Linked DNA regions of Homo sapiens: all the other regions are linked to region 1. Evidence: promoter capture Hi-C in 16 types of primary human blood cells and fetal thymus (Javierre and others, 2016). All regions are on one chromosome and are shown on one strand. The core of a region is centred on a gene start or on the middle of the fragment in contact, and the rest is flanking DNA. Distances in the headings are between cores, read along the strand shown.

What was found. Contacts are between HindIII fragments. The CHiCAGO score rates a contact against its expected background, and 5 or more counts as called.
Region 2: a fragment that was not itself captured here is called in contact with the fragment with the promoter of MEGF8 in region 1 in 8 of 17 cell types (neutrophils, naive CD8 T cells, total B cells and 5 more); the score reaches 8.0 in neutrophils.
Region 3: a fragment that was not itself captured here is called in contact with the fragment with the promoter of MEGF8 in region 1 in 17 of 17 cell types (fetal thymus, total CD8 T cells, naive CD8 T cells and 14 more); the score reaches 23.4 in fetal thymus.

Annotation. Positions count from the first base shown.
Region 1 is chr19:42,323,473-42,327,118 of GRCh38, reverse strand. It overlaps MEGF8 (multiple EGF like domains 8), which reads right to left and starts at 1,484. Exons shown (of 42, transcript NM_001271938.2): 1 at 689-1,484. The coding sequence starts at 875. TMEM145 (transmembrane protein 145) reads right to left here. Exons shown (of 15, transcript NM_173633.3): 14 at 3,330-3,536; 15 at 2,055-2,382. The coding sequence ends at 2,302. RefSeq lists silencers at 819-888, 899-968, 1,189-1,328, 1,369-1,558. The HindIII fragment of the contact is 9,695 bases long and covers 1-3,646 here.
Region 2 is chr19:42,163,177-42,166,413 of GRCh38, reverse strand. It overlaps a transcript of POU2F2 not described here. Among named protein-coding and RNA genes, the nearest start is that of POU2F2-AS2, 12 kb to the right of the region's middle. RefSeq lists a silencer at 980-1,203. The HindIII fragment of the contact is 8,120 bases long and covers 1-3,237 here.
Region 3 is chr19:42,103,815-42,107,279 of GRCh38, reverse strand. The region is part of intron 5 of POU2F2 (POU class 2 homeobox 2); the gene reads left to right. Among named protein-coding and RNA genes, the nearest start is that of POU2F2, 27 kb to the left of the region's middle. The HindIII fragment of the contact is 5,797 bases long and covers 1-3,465 here.

The DNA.
Region 1 (3,646 bases), core at 235-2,734:
TCATTCCAACAACTCTATGAGGTGAGTACTGTTGTTATCCCATTTGTGGGGGAAGGAAACAGAACCTCAGAGAAAGAAAACCACCTGCTCAAAGTCACAAAGCTAATAATAAGAAGCCAGGCACAGTGGCTCACACCTACAATCCCAACACTTTGGGAGGCTGAGGTGCGAGGATCGTTTGAGCCCAAGAGTTCAGGACTAGCCTGGGCGACATGGTGAGACTCTGTCTCTACACACTCAGTTACTTGGGAGGCTGAGGTGGGAGGATCACTTGAGCCCAGGAGGTCGAGGCTGCAGTAAGTAAATTGTGTTGGTACCATTGCACTCCAGCCTGGGTGACAGAGTGAGGCCCCCATCTCAAAAAAAAAAAAAAAAAAAAGTAGTAGTAGTAGAACCAAATTCAAAGCCAAATGATTGGACCCAGACCCTGAGTTCTTAACAGTTACTCAGAAGGCCCGGCACTGATGCTCCTGTCTTGTAATTGTAAATCTGGGTGTAGGTGCATCTCCCCCACCAGACTTGGAGGCCTTCCAGGGCAGGGCCCAGGTTGGCTGCAACCCTGGGTGTCAGGCATTTTAGAGCAAAAGGCCTGGACCAGAACCGAGCTCTGGGAATGTGGTGAGTGGATGAATGCACACATGAATGAACTACCAGCGAATTAGTGAGTGACCCACGCGGCCCCACTCACCCTCGATGAGCCACTCGCAGTTGCCATTGACGCTGTAGTTGCCCGCACCATCCGTCACGAAGCCTGGCGCCTCCCGCAGCACCTGCCGCTGCCCCTTGCAGTCCCCCGCCCGGGCCCCAGGGGACAGCGACCCCAGCACGGCCAAGGCCAAAACCAGTGCCATGGCCAGAACCTTGCCCAGGGCCATCGCCGCCTCCTGCACTGACCCTTAGAGCGGGGACAGGCCGTAAAAACCTGGAGAGGACCCTCTACCCGGGGTGAGGCCCTGCAAATGCGACCTCTATAGGCATAACATGACCTTGTAGATCGAAGAGGTCCCGGAGACCCGGCAGTCCCGGCGAAGGGTACGGCCACTGCTGACAGGCTCTGGAAGCCGAGGGCTGAGCCCTATAGAGCGATGGAAGGCCCTGTATATGGAGTCATTATGGACGGGGCCGAACCCTAGGGACCGTAGGAGTCCCCTATAGACACAGGGCTCCATAGGGGGCCGATCCCATGAACAGTGCCCAGCATTACGGACTCAGGCTGCTGCAGGCCAAACGGACCTTATAGACGGGTGGGTCCCCAGGGGGCGAAGGGCTCTACGGCCCGGCAGGAGCCTCCATAGAGGCTGCGGGCCGGGACAGGCTAGGTTCGGATGGTCCAGGAGAGACTCCTCCAGCCGGGGGCGGGGCGCGAGCGGGTGCCGGGGGCGGAGCCCGTCTTCAGGGGTTCGGGCCTGGACCCCACAGACCCAATCCCTTTGCTCACCCACCCTCGCCTCCCTCCGAAGCCGGATGGGCCAGATCAGAGAGACGAGGGGACGCTTGGGCCAGAGCGGCCGCGGGAAGACCCGCTGTGGGAGGGCGAGGGGGCGGGAGCCGAGCAGCCGCTGTGGGAGGGACGGCGAAGAGGAGGCGAGAAGTTACAGAGCGGCCGGTCAGAGCGGCCCTGGGAGGACTGCGGAGCGCCCAACCCCAACCCTCCATAAAGGGAGACTTCCGGGGAAATCCCCGCCCATTTGTTCCCAACCGCATGCGCAGCAGCGTCCTCCTGGAGGGAGAGAAATACACATATGCGCAGTGCTAAGATCGTAACCCAAACTCTGGGTGCCTGTGGTTCAGCAAAGCATGGGCCACTGGAGGGCGCCTCTACCTCTGAGTGAGGAAAGGAAGGCAAAAATAAAGGAGCGGTGCAAGACCCTGCTAGATGTTTGATCATCTTCAATGTTCCCACATTCTGGGGCAACATAAAGATCAGGTTATACAGGCCCCTGCCTCCGGTTCCAAATTCCCATTTCACAGATGGACACACTGAGGTCCCGAGCCTGACATAGTTCTGGCTCAGCCCCGCCGCTGAACACCATCAAGATGCAAAAGAAGCCATGTTATAGATAAAAACGAATCCTTTTTTATTTTGGCAAGAAGGGGTAAAATGTCTTTCTGCCAGGGACCCGAGGGAAGGCCCCCGGAATGGAGATGCGGCAGATGGAGTACGGGTCCGAGGTCACAGATCCGAGGGAGGGTTTCAGGGTCGAGACCAGCATCGCAATATCCATCCCGGGGTCGCAGAGTCCTGGAGAGTCACAGGCAGGGTCCCGGCGGTCACCACGGGTGTTCCGGAGTCCAGCGGGGTCAGAGGTCTCGAAGGGGGCCAGGGGGCCGGAGGTCACGGAACAGCGGGAGCCCAGAATCCGGCGCCGCTCGGGGCAGGGGCTGAGGGAGGGGACGGGGAGAGCGGCTCCCGCGGGACCGTTTGGCACAGAGGGGAGGGGGGCGGGACGCAGCGTACCCAACCTGGGCGCGCGGGGTGGGAAGGGTCGGGAAGGCCGGGGATGGGCGAGCTCTCGGGCCGGGATAAAGCAGGGGTCCGGAGCCCGGCCGGGGCCCGGTCATGGCCCATGGGGCAGGGGCGGGCAGGGGTGCTCAGACCGGGGGTGCAGTGCCCCCGGCCGTGTGCATGCTGAAGTATTCGGTGAAGCCGGTGTGCGGCGCTGCCGTCTGGGGCACGAGCGGCTGGTAGGGCGGCGTCGGGCCGTCCCAGCCCGAGTCGGCCGCCTTGGGGAACCGAGCGGGAAGTGGGGGGGAGGCTGCGCCCGGCTCGGCCATGGTCACCACGCGGCCCCTCGGGGCCACCGCCGCCGCCACCGCTGTCTCCTCCACCTGCTTCCCGGCCTGGGAGGGGGGTCAGGGTCAGAGGCCGTCCGGGACCCTCGGGGGGCAGATGCGGCCCCGAAGGCCCGTCCCCCTCCCCCGGAGAACCCTTCCACCCCAGGTGTGGACGCACGTTGTCAGTCAGGGAAGGACTGGGTGGCGGGGCGCCTGGGCAGCGGGGCCAGGTACTCAAAGGGCGGCGTCGGGGCGCGCGGGGCGAACTCCGGCGGCGGCCGGGGAGCTGGGGGAGAGCCGCGGAAGGCGGGCGGTGGGGGCACGGCGCAGGGAGTCTGCGGGGGTGTGCGCAACAGCGCCAGAACCCAGTCAGGCAGGGTGGGCGCGGGCGCCAGGGGACGGTCGCGGCGCGGTGTTGGGGCGCGGGGAGTGCGAAAGGCAGGAGGAGGGCTCAGGGGTCCGGGCGCTGGGGGCGGCGGCGGGGCCGGGAGCGGGGTCAGGTACTCCAGGGGCGGCGCCAGCAGCTCCTCGGGCGCTGGGGCCGCGGGGCTTACGGAGGTGGCGGGCGGGGGGATGGAGAAGAGCTCCGTGAAGTTGGGCACCGAGTCGCTGATAAACGTCACGTTCCCATAGACGTGCTGCGGGAAGGCCTTGTCAGCGGATTGGCTCCCTCCGGGTCCAGGGACTCCGGCTGAAGCGATCTGCGACGTGCGCACGTGGTACGGGAAGTTCTTGTTGGCCGCTGATGGGCGGGTCATGATCTGAGGCCAGGGCCAGGAGCAGGTGTGAGAGGCACTGTCAGGCCGGAGGCTGTCCCCATAAACTTGGGGTCCGAAGGATTCCCTTTCAGTTGACATCCACCACACTTCCC
Region 2 (3,237 bases), core at 401-2,900, 160 kb after region 1:
CTATTTATTGAGTACCTGCCAGGTGTTAGGCATTGTGCAAGGTGCTTTGAACTTTTTTTTGTTGTTCATTTTAAAAAACGGAGGAAAAAAAAAAACTCTGAGCATAGAGTGTCCCCAGAGCATGAGACCTGGTGCCCAGTGCTGTGAATGACAAAAGTGAACATAGTCCATCTGCACAGAGCTTACTATTCCAGTGTGTGCACACACATACCCAAAGTGTCACACCAGTCAGGTGATGGGGAGCTTGTGCTCCTGTGCTCGATCCTTTTCTGCAGAAGGCCCAAGAGATAGTTTGGGGGCCATTGCGGCAGCAACTGTCAGAGATAAGGGGCCATCCCCAGCCATCCTTAATTCCCCTTTACCAACCTAATGGGAGCTCTCATTGTTCATATCTGGATTGCAGGGCCCAGCATGGGATCTGGCCTAGAATTGGCCTCAGGAAATGCTTACTGAATGAATGAATGAATGAACAAAGGAATATATTTAGCTGAGTGTCTTCATTGCATTTGTTCATTTGCTCAGGTTACCAAGACAAACCTTCTCCCTTACCTACCCACCACCTTCACTTACTACTCACAGCATTTATGGCTGCTGATGGTAATAGTATTAATTTCTCCCACTCATTGCCCCTTTTTTGTGTGTAAGGCCTTTTGCTAAGTTCCCTATAAGCACGGTCTTGTTGGCTTCTCACACCAGCAAAATGAGGCAGCTGTTATTATTATCTTCATGCTATGTTTGAGCAAACTGAGGCTCAGAGAGGTGAAGTGACTTGCCCAGGGCCACACAGTGAGGAAGTGGCCGACCCCATGTTTACCCACTGTGCTCTTCTGCCCCACAGAAGTGCACATTATCTCAGGAGTCTGCATGCACACTTGTTCTTGCAGTTGTCCCCCTCCCAGTAGTTGGATGGCACTACTCTGATCCAGGAGCCCAGATCCCCAGCTTCTGGTCCCAGCTGTGTCATGACCAGTTGAGTAGCTCTGGGAAAATCCCTTCCCTCCCTCTGGGTCTTCGTTTTCCCTCCAGCAGTTCCTCCTGTCTGTAAGCCCTCAGCCAGTTTCCTGAAGAGGGGACAGGGGACTGTATTTGGCTTGGTACTACCCCGCCCACTCTATTGAGAGCAGAAGCCAGAGGAGTGAGCTCTTCTCCATTCAGCAGACTTCAAATTCATTCACATTCTTGAGGGCACTGAACTCTGCTGGGTTTGGACATAAGGGAAGACATAAGACAAGCCTGGCTGGGAAAGGGAGAGGGAAGCAGAGAAACAGCACTAGAGGTGCCTCCACTAAGTACCTAGCCACAGTCTGTCAATTACAGACAAATGGTGTGACACATGTTCATTGTAGAAATAACAGAAAACAGAAATTCAATGAGATGAGAAGAAAATGACCATGATAATCTAGTTAAACGAACAACAAAAAGGACATTACCTTTTGCTATCTGTCTTTTTTTTTTTTTTTGAGATAGCCTGTCACCCAGGCTGGAGTGCAGTGGAGAGATCTCAGCTCACTGCAGCCTCTACCTCTGAGGCTTAAGTGATCCTCCCATCTCAGCCTCCCGAGTAGCTGAGACTGTAGGTATGCGCCACCACACCCAGCTAATTTTTGTATTTTTTGTAGAGACAGAGTCTTGCTATGTTGCCCAGGCTGGTCTTGTACTCCTGGGCTCAAGGGATCCGCCCACCTCGGCCTCCCAAAGTGCTGGGATTACAGGTGTGAGCCATTGCACCCTGACTGTCTTAGCTTTTTTTTTTTCTCCAAAGGAGATTATGGCTATGAGTTTACCCAAATAATTTATTAAAATTTAGATACCTGGGACCCAAACTCAGATTTTTTTTTTTTTTGAGACAGAGTCTCGCACTGTCACCTGAGCTGAAGTGCAATGGCATGATCTCGGCTTACTGCAACCTCTGCCTCCCAGGTTCAAGCGATTCTCCTGCCTCAGCCTCCCAAGTAGCTGGGATTACAGGTGTCTGCTGCCACGCCTAGCTAACTATTTTTGTATTTTTAGTAGAGATGGGGTTTCAAACTCCTGACCTCAGGTGATCCGCCTGCCTTGGCCTCCCAAAGTGTTGGGATTACAGGCATGAGCCACTATGCCTGGCCTTTTTTTTTTTTTTTTTGAGACAGAATGTCAGTGTGTCGTCCAGGCTGGAGTGCAGTGGCGCAATCTCAGCTCACTGCAACCTCCACCTCCTGGGTTCAAGAGATTCTCCTGCCTCAGCCTCCTGAGTAGCTGGGATTACAGGCGCACCACCACACCCGGCTAATATTTGTATTTTTAGTAGAGATGGAGTTTCACCATGTTGGCCAGACTGGTCCAAACTCAGAATTCTGATTTCTGTTCCAAATTTATTTATTTTTGGTGGGGGAACCATCTGGATGTGTATTTTGTAAAAACGGGATGATATGCTACATACTTGTTTATAACTTGCCTTTTCTTCTTCCTAACAACAGATTATGAACATGGTTTCGTTGTCAATGATTTTATTTCATGGTATGAGCTGAGAGAAGTGTAAAAAAAAATTTATTTCAAACATGTTTTCAACAACTCTACAGTCCTTCTTTGTATGGCCACTATACTATCATTTATTGTACCAGTCCCCACTCATATGATATCTAGGTTGGTTTTTGATTTCCCCTATTATAATTATCCCCAGTTTACAAATGAAGACATTGAGGCTTGGATGTGAAGCCTCTCACATGTGTGAAAAGCTAAGGCACAGTCAGAGGGGAGCCGGGGACCACTTGGGTGCCAGCAACAGTCCCTGGCCTCCCTCAGGGAGGGACTGAGGGATCCCGAGAGGAGAGAAAAGCCTGGGTAGAGGAAGCCACCAAGACATAAGACATGTGCCGTGTCAGCAGGGGCCCTTGAGGAGGAGACCACCCTCTTCCAGGCCCCAGAGCCAGGCGTGATGCCGGCCTATGTCCTGCCCACTCAGGCTTCCCTCATCCCTTCCGCTGCCCCCCTCCCTGAGCCCACTCACCGCCTGCTCCATCCTTGCCAGCTTATCAATAGGTTAAGTGGTCAGGTCAGTGATATTGACCATTTGATTAGGACCTTGTCAGATCAATCCCTGGCTCATCTCGTGGGCCTCCTCCTCTGCCCACACACTCCCTCCTGTTCTTCTGCTCCAGGGAGCAGGTGGCCACAGAAGCCTCTCTCTCCCAACACAGCACCCCAGAACCGGGAGCCCCATGGCCCTTTGTGGGCCATTCCTGGTTCTCTGTTTAGGTG
Region 3 (3,465 bases), core at 82-2,581, 220 kb after region 1:
GGGTTCAAGTGATTCTCCTTCCTCAGCCTCCCATGTAGCTGCAACTACAGGCGCCCGCCACCACACCTGGCTAATTTTTTTTCTGTATTTTTTTGGTAGAGATGGGGTTCCACCATGTTGGCCAGGCTGGTCTCAAACTCCTGAACTCAAGTGATTCGCCCGCCTTGGCCTTCCAAAATGCTGGGATTACAGGCATGAGCCACCGCACCCAGCCAAATTTTAATTAATTTATTTTATTTTATTTTGTTTTTTGGAGACGGGTGTCTCCCTTTGTTGCCTAGGCTGCAGTGCCATGGTGTGATCATAGCTTACTGCCACCTCAAACTCCTGGGTTCAAGGGATCCTCCCACCTCAGCATCCTGAGTAGCTGGGACCACAGGCATGCACCACCATGCCTGGCTAATTTTCCTTCTCCTCCTTCTCCTTCTCCTTCTCCTCCTGCTCCTCCTCCTCCTCCTTCTCCTCCTCCTCCTCTTCCTCCTCCTCCTCCTCTTCCTCCTTCTCCTCTTCCTCCTTCTTGTTTTTTTCTTTTTGTAGAGACAGGGTCTTGCCATCTTGCCCAGGCTGGTCTCAAACTCCTGGGCTCAAAAGATTCTCACATCTAGCCTCCCAAAGTGCTGGGATTATAGGCATGAGCCACTGTGCCCAGCCAGTTTTTATTTTAGATTCAGGGATACATGTGTAGGTATGTTACAAGGGTTATATTGCATGGATGCTGAGGTTTGGGGTATAATTGTTCCTGTCACCCAGTAGTGAACACAGTACCCAGTAGGAAGTTTTTCAGCCTTTGCCCTTCTCCCTCCCTTTGGAGTCCCTAGTGATGATGACTATAATTATGTGATTGATTTCATTTGAAATTCTATATATCTGGCTGGACATGGTGGCTCACACCTGTGACCCCAGCACTTTGAGAGGACGAGGTGGGTGGATCATCTGAGGTCGGGAGTTTGAGACCAGCCTAGCCAACATGGTGAAACCCCTTCTCTACTAAAAATACAAAAATTAGCTGGGCATGGGCATGGTGGGTGCACCTGTAGCCTCAGCTACTTGGAAGTCTGAGGCAGGATAATTGCTTGAACCCGGGAGGCAGAGGTTGCAGTGAGCCAAGCAAGACTGAGCCACTGTACTCCAGCCAGGGTGACAGAGGGAGACTCCATCTCATCTCAAAAAAGAAAGAAAGAGAGAGAGAGAAGGGAAAGAAAGAAAAGAAAGAAAAAGAAAGAAAGAAGAAAGAAAGAAAGAAAGAAAGAAAGAAAGAAAGAAAGAAAGAAAGAAAGAAAAAAGAAAGATCCTATATATCATATGTTATGTGTTTTTAATTCTGAGAAGAGGGCAATAGGTTTTTTTTTTTTTCAGATGCTGAAGAATTCAGGGCACAAAAACATTTAGACCTCTATTGTTTTAGACCCCTCTCTGCCTGCCTGGGGGCGAATGGATGGTCTGGGGTAGAAGGATGGTGGTTTGGACCAGGACAGTCACTGTGGACAGGAAGAGATGTAGAGGGAACTGGGAAGACTTGCATTGCAGATGGATTGGATGGATGGGGAGAGGAAGGGAAGGTGGGATTAAGGCTGACCCCTAAGTCTCTGGTCTGAGAAACTAGACAGGGATGTGATTAAATGTTTCCCATCTGAACTTCTCACCATGAGACCTTCTGCAAACTGGGATGCACTTTCCCCATTCTTTCCTCTCGCTGGTGATTCAGAACGAAACCCACAGACACCTCTCTAGGCTTCTGGAGGAAAGGGGAATTTTCATTGAGAGTCATGCTAGGGAGGAACAGGAGTTAACAAATACTTTAATCAACAAGCTAAGGGTTATAGGAAATCAGAAAAATGCTGGTAATAAGACTTGATTTCTAGTCTTATTCATTAGATTCAATTCAGTGGGCATTTAATGGGGGCTTACCAGGTTCCGATATGAGTTAGGGATATACGAAGAATAAGATATGCCTCTGGTCTGCTAGAGTCAGTCTGGCAGAGGAAAAGTACACATAAGCAAATGCATTGACTTGGGAGACGTGTAGCACAGGGCAGGTGGGTCTCGTTTTGTGGGGCCAAAAGATTATGCAACTTGGAGTCCCTTTGAAAGAAAAAGACAATGTTTGAAACAAAAATTAGGTATGGGGCCTTGAAAGGGTTCACTGTAAATGGGGGGCCCTGAAGCATAAGTGTTGCCCGCTTCACAGTTGATCCACATCTGGAGGGAGGTGACCATGGAGGTGTTACTGGGCTGGGGGTAGCTGGGAAAGGGAAGGCAGGGTGGACATTGTTTCACAGGATAGAGTGCTAGGACTTCAGAACCCTTAAGCTGGATTCTGAGATGATTAGCAGCAAGAGTTAGAGAGGTCAGGAGCACAGGAGTACCCAGTCCACTGCCATACACGGAATAAGCAGAGGCACCCCCAGGGGGTCAGGGAATAGTGTTCAGCTGTCGAAAAGCAGGGATGTTGATCAGCAGTGACTGTTTGGGTGGGTGGGGGTGAGACACTGGGATATTTATTTACTCAGACCAGGTACATGTTTCAAATCCCAGAGGTATGAATGGATTTACAGCGTGGCCTTCTGGTATGGTTTTCCAGACATCAACTATGCATACCCAAGCAAATATCCAGATATACTCTTTTTTTGTGTGTGACACAAACAGTACCACCTCATACCCTCTGTTCTGCCTCTTGAGCTTTCCACTCAACAGGACATCCTGCAGATTGTTCCATGTCAGGACACAAAGAGACTCCTCATTCTTGCTGGTGACTGCATAGTATTCCACTGTAGAGCTCTGCCCTCATTCATCCAACCCATCCTGTCTTGCTGCATGCTCAGCTACCTTCTACTCTTTTGCCAGAATGCCACTTGCTGCTGGGAATAGCCTTCTAGAGAGGTCATTTTGCACCTCTCTAGAAGGCCATTCCCAGCCTTCTAGAGTGAGAATAGATAAATTTTTAGCAGTAGAATGGCTGAGTTGAAGGCTGTGTGCAGTTGTAATTTTGATAGACATTGCCAAATCACCCTCTCACCAGCATGTACAAGAATGTGTGTTTCCCCACACTCCCCAATGTGGTATTACACACTATTTTTATATTTGGTGATCTGAGAGGTAAAAATGATATCTCAGTGCAATTGCAGTCGTGTTTATCTTATTGCGAGTGAATCTGAGTGTATTTCCATCCAGAGCTGTTCACATTAATTTCACTGGGCACTCTCCAGACCTGTCTGTCAGCCACATTACTACTGGGTTGTCAGTTTTTTACTTATGGATTTGTAATCACTACTTTTTTCTTCTTCTTTAATTATATAGAGTTATTTGCAAAATCTCTCTTTGTATATTAAAGAAATGAGCCCCTTCTGGCCTGGGCAGGGTGGCTCATGCCTGTAATCCCAGCTCTTTGGGAGGCCGAGGCAGGCGGATCACGAGGTCAGGAGATCGAGACCATCCTGGCTAACACGGTGAAACCTCGTCTCTAAT